2 separate regions of the Homo sapiens genome follow, and region 2 is linked to region 1. The links are contacts of gene promoters, found by promoter capture Hi-C in human tissues and cell types (Jung and others, 2019). All regions are on one chromosome and are shown on one strand. Each heading gives the region's core, a stretch centred on a gene start or on the middle of the fragment in contact. The rest is flanking DNA. Distances are from core to core; before and after follow the strand shown.

The links. Contacts are between HindIII fragments. The study calls those that stand out against the background at their distance.
Region 2: a fragment that was not itself captured here is called in contact with the fragment with the promoter of RBPJL in region 1 in 1 of the 25 tissues and cell types used here (dorsolateral prefrontal cortex).

What each region holds. Positions count from the first base shown.
Region 1 is chr20:45,305,535-45,308,136 of GRCh38, reverse strand. It overlaps RBPJL (recombination signal binding protein for immunoglobulin kappa J region like), which reads right to left and starts at 1,297. Exons shown (of 12, transcript NM_014276.4): 1 at 1,193-1,297. The coding sequence starts at 1,214. It overlaps MATN4 (matrilin 4), which reads left to right. Exons shown (of 10, transcript NM_001393530.1): 2 at 2,521-2,602. The coding sequence starts at 2,555. The HindIII fragment of the contact is 4,763 bases long and covers 120-2,602 here.
Region 2 is chr20:45,925,120-45,927,721 of GRCh38, reverse strand. No RefSeq gene overlaps it. Among named protein-coding and RNA genes, the nearest start is that of PCIF1, 8.3 kb to the left of the region's middle. RefSeq lists an enhancer at 118-412. The HindIII fragment of the contact is 6,331 bases long and covers 1-2,602 here.

The DNA.
Region 1 (2,602 bases), core at 48-2,547:
GGGAGTAGGCATCAAGCCAGGTCAGGCGAGTGTATTTTAGCAGAGACGCTGCCTAGGGTGCCCTATCTGATTTGCAGTGCCCTTCCCCACTTCTGCAGGGTCCTTTCCAAATCGAGCCCCCACCCTCAAAGCCATCAAAATAGGATCATCCCTTTTCTACTCTCATCCCTCCAGGAACCCCCTGAAATGTCCCTAAGGGACTTTTGAGAATTTATTTACAGGCCTCTCCTCCCTTGCTGCTCCACTCCCTCAACCTCACCTCAGGGCATCTCTGAATCTTTCTTTTTTTAATGCAAGGATTAACTCCTCAGAGGAATCCCAGGTTCTAGTATCAGTCCTGCCACGACATCGCCATGTACCCTTCAGCAAGACACTACCCTCTCTGGACCTAGTTCCTTTCTTTGTAGAATGAGGGGTTTGGAAAGGTGATGAACTTTGAGGCATTTGCTATTTTGACTTTCTAGGATTCCTGGGGTGGAGGCAGGGTGCCAGGTGAGAAGTTGGCTCAGACCAAGAATGGGATGAGGGGAACCTTAACCAAGATTTAGGGGCCCAGAGGCATCTCCGGGTAGGAAAGTATGGGAGGTGGCAGAGGCCCCTTGTGCCTTAGCCCTCATGCTGTCCAGGGATGTTGGCTTTGCCTGTGGCCCAAGCTTGACAAGGGTTCCCCGCCCTCCCACTTCCACCAGCGCTGCCACATCTTGCTTGGTCACCCTCCCACGACGGGCCCTGCCAGAGGATTTATGTTCTTCTACCAGGCCTGGGAGGGGAAAAGGGAGAAGAATCCGGGATGAGAAGGTCGCCTGGAGTGAGAAGCAGGCACTGGCCTCGCTCAGAATAGGCGCATTCACGGAATTGGGGGGCGGGGGCGGAGCTGCTGTTGGGTTAGGGGCAGCTGGCCCTCTCTGCCAAGAAACAGCAACAGAAAAATGGCTAACACAGCTTCAGCATGGGGCGCGGCGGTGGGGTAGGAGCTGGAAGGAAATGAGGTTTAGTGAATTCTAGGCGCCAGGGGGCCTCAAGAGAGAGAAGGGGAACCAGGAGCCCTAGGTTCTAATCCTGCTTTTGCAGTTCGGCGGGCTGCCTCCTTGGGGCTTAGTTTTCCTATTTGTATAGTGGGGAGGGGGTGGGGGGGTGGTCCTTCGTAGTTCTCACGGGGCGTCTCCGGGGCCTCGGGAGGGTAAGCGCTCACCTGCTGCCCCTGCGGGGTCCATGGTGGCTCCACGGGGCCCCAGCCGCTCACCCGCCGCCCTCTGGACGAGTCCAGTGCTGCTGTCGCTGGAACCCTGCACACCCCTGCTCCTCGGCTCTTGCGCGGGTTATATCCTGTCCAGGCCTTATCTCCAAGGCCCCGGGCCCCGGCCCCCTGTTTGCTCGGGGTGGGCGCACCTGCTGGGCAGATGTGGGCTTCCCACGCCCCCTGCCATCTCGGGCGCCCCCTGGCGGTCGCTCCTGAGAGCAGGCGGGAAACAGGCGCCAAGCCGCGCGTTCTCGTGCGCAGTGGGTTTTGGTCCACTCGCTGCCACGCCACCACGCTCAGCCCCGCAACAGGGCGCAGCCCCTCCCTGCCGCCTGCGGTTGGGCAGTGCATGTCTGTGTTTGTGTGTGTGGAGGGGTCTGGGGGGGTTGGCGAGTTGCAAAGACAGCCACACAGAAGCCTGTGTGCGTAGGGGAGTGGGCCGAGGTGGGGAAGGGCTTCTGTCTGCAGAGGTTCGCCTGGCAGGAGGAGAGGCACCAAACGCCCAGGCTGGCTCACAGAAACTAGCAGGCGTGGGATTGTATCCTGCCGCAGCCACTTTTTGGCCGAATGACTTTGGGTACCAGCGCTTAACTTTTCTGAGCCTCAATTTCATTGTCTGTATGATGGGGGACAATCACAGCCTTAGTCTTACAATTGCAGAGAGGATTAAATGCCACAATGCGTGAAGAGCATTTAACACTGTGCCTGACATTTAAGGAAGACCTGTTTTTTTCTGTTTAAATTTTGCATATTTGTATCTATGTATCTATTCTTATTTACCATTCTCTTGTGGGCCGAGCGCGGTGGCTCACGCCTGTAATCCCAGCATTCTGGGAGGCCGAGGTGGGAGGATCACCTGAGGTCAGGAGTTTGAGACCAGCCTGACCAACATGGCAAAACCCGCTCTCTACTAAAAATACAAAAAATTAGCCAGGTGTGGTGGCAGGAGCCTGTAATCCCAGCTACTCGGGAGGCTGAGGCCGGAGAATCGCTTGAACCTGGGAGGCAGAGGTTGCAGTGAGCCGAGATCATGCCACTGCACTCCAGCCGGGACGACAGAGCAAGACTCTATCTAAAAAAAAAAAAAAAAAGAATCTCTTGTGTTTCCCAGCAATCCCACTGTGATGAGAATTTTTTAATTCTGAAACATTTCAAACATACACAAAAATAGAGAGATTAGTAAAATAAACCTGTAACTGTCTTCCCCCTCCAAGTGCCTATCACCCAGAATAAGAGCTCTGTAAATACTGTTGCTTTTCTATTTTCCTTCCTCCCTCCAGGCTCTGACACCTCCATTCTCTGTCCCCAAGCGCCATGAGAGGCCTTCTTTGCTGGCCCGTGTTGCTGCTCCTTCTTCAGCCC
Region 2 (2,602 bases), core at 33-2,532, 620 kb before region 1:
CCTAATTCAGCCTTCGAGTCTTAGCCTAGATGTCGCCTCCACCAGGCAGCCTTCCCTGAACTTCCTTCTACCCCGGCTAGGACAGGTTCCCTCTCTTGTACTACCACAATGGTCTAAGCTCATAATGTTTGTCAATTTTCCTCATCCACTAGGCTGTGCGCTGCTTAAGGGTGGGGCCTGGGGCTTATTCACCCTTGTAACCCCATGCTCAGTACTGTGCCTGACCCTCTGTAAATATTTGATGACCATGAACAGACCACTCTGGGTTGAAGTCTAGGTGGCTTTTTCAGGTAGCCCGTTTATTTATTTATTTTTTGAGACAGGATCTCCCTCTGTCGCACAGGCTGGAATGCAGTGGTGTGATCTTGGCTCACTGTAACCTCTGCCTCCAGGATTCAAGCGATTCTCCTGCCTCAGCCTCCGGAGTAGCTGTGACTAAAGGCACACATCACCAGGCCCAGCTAATTTTTGTGTTTTTAGTAGAGATGGGGGTTTCACCGTGTTGACCAGGCTGGCCTCGAACTCCTGACCTCAAGCAATCTGCCTGCCTCGGCCTCCCAAAGTGGTGGGATTACAGGCGTGAGGCACTGTGCCTGGCCAGGTATCCCCGTTTCTATTCCAGGCTCTGGTTTCTGTGGTGGGAACACCAAGGCAGCACCCTGTGGGCTGCCTGCTGTGGCCGAGTCTCTGTCAGTAGCCTGGAGTCTTTTATTCCCAATATAGGGATGAGCAGTTGAGCAAAGATCCTAAGGCTTTCCATTTCTCCAGCTACTTTTCTGAACTAAGAAGCCTGGGTAGACAATAGGTCTGGGCTGAGAGAGGTGGTTGGAATAAGCTGGGCTCCTCTCCCTGGCACCAGGGCCGGCTGCATAGATTTAGAAAGGCCCATGCTTACTGGGTGTGGAGGCTCATGCCTGTAATCCCAGCACTTTGGGATGCCAAAGTGGGAGGATTGCTTGTGGCCAAAAGTTCAAGACCAGCATGTGCAACATAGAACCCCATCTCTACATAAAATAATAATAGTAATAATTAGCTGGGCATAGTAGGTGCTCCTGCAGTCCTAGCTACTTGGGAGGCTGACGCAGGGGGTGATTGCTTGAGTCCAGGAGTTCGAGGCTGTAGTGAGCCATGATTGCACCACTGCACTCTAGACCCTGTCTCAAAAAATAAAAACAAGATGAAAATAAAAATAATAATAAAAAAGAAAAGTCTGTGTTTGGTTTAATGTTCTACTGTCACCATCTTAAAAATCTTAATAATTTTGGAACAAAAGTCCCACGTTTTCATTTTGCCCTGAGCCCTGAATATTGTTTTTTGAGACAGCGTCTTGCTCTGTCACCCAGGCTGGAGTGCAGTGGTGCAATCTCGGCTCGCTGCAACCTCCCCCTCCCAGGTTCAAGCAATTCTCTTGCCTCAGCCTCCCCAGTAGCTGGGACTACAGGCACGTGCCACTGGGTCCAGGTAATTTTTAGATTTTTAGTAGAGATGGGGTTTCACCATGTTGGCAAGTCTGGTCTCACACTCCCAACCTCAGGTGATCCACCCACCTTGGCACCCCAAAGTGATGGGATTACAGGCGTGACCCATCATGTCCGGCCCTAGCCCTGAAAATTATGTCACCACTCCTGGCTGGTCACTAGCTGCCAGGGCCTCTGAGGACCCCTGCCTCAACTCCGGACAAAGCCAAGCCTCCACACTAAAGCAGAAACATAAACAACCAGCTCAGGTTGCCACATAGCTTAACCCCCTTGTTCTCTGCCACTGCAGCAAGAAGCTGCTGAGAGGGAACTTTCATCCCCTGAGGTCCTGGCAGCTGGGGAAGGGAGACTCTAGCTGGATCCCACTCCAGGTTGCCCCCGCCTAGGCTGGGCTTGAGCTGGCCATGGACCCTACACTGCAGTTTAAATTATGCAAAGGGAGTTTCCAAGGCAAGTGGGTCTGGCCCCCGGAAAGCTGTGGAAAGGAGGCTTCCACCCCAAACTGTGGTTCCCACAGGGAGTGGCTCTTGGGCCATTCTGGGACCAGATGAGAGAAGCCATTTAGGCCAAGAATAGATGAGAGGAATGGGGGCGTCTCCCTTGGTCTTCCTGGCCTTGGAAGCGTCTGATGTGGTGTACTATTCCCTCCATTTCTTCCCTTGGCCTGTCCTAGAGTCTTGAGAATAAGCGATAAGTAAGACGGACAGACGGTTTGTCTTAGGGAGCCCACAGAGCAGTGTGGGAGGCAGACATATACATGAACCCTCTGCCACAGGGAGATGAGGGCTCTGGAGGGATGGCAGGGGCTGGGGGTGGTGGGCACACAAAGGAGAAAGCTTCAGAGGAGATGACAATGAACAGATTCTTATTGGAAAAATAGATTTTCCAGGTAGGCAAGGAAAAGGGGAGGGCACAGCGTGTGCCAAGGCCTGGAGGTATAGAAAGGGAGGGTGTGTTTGGAGAGCTGGTCAACCTGAGCACAGCCAGGGAGCAAGGGAGGTGCAGGTCCTACCAGGACCCTGGAGTCCAAATTCAGTCCTTGCTCTGGGTTAGTGCTCAGCATCCCAGGCGGCGTTTGGTCATATCAAGATAGGGGTGGGCCACCTGTGGTGGTCCCCTCCACT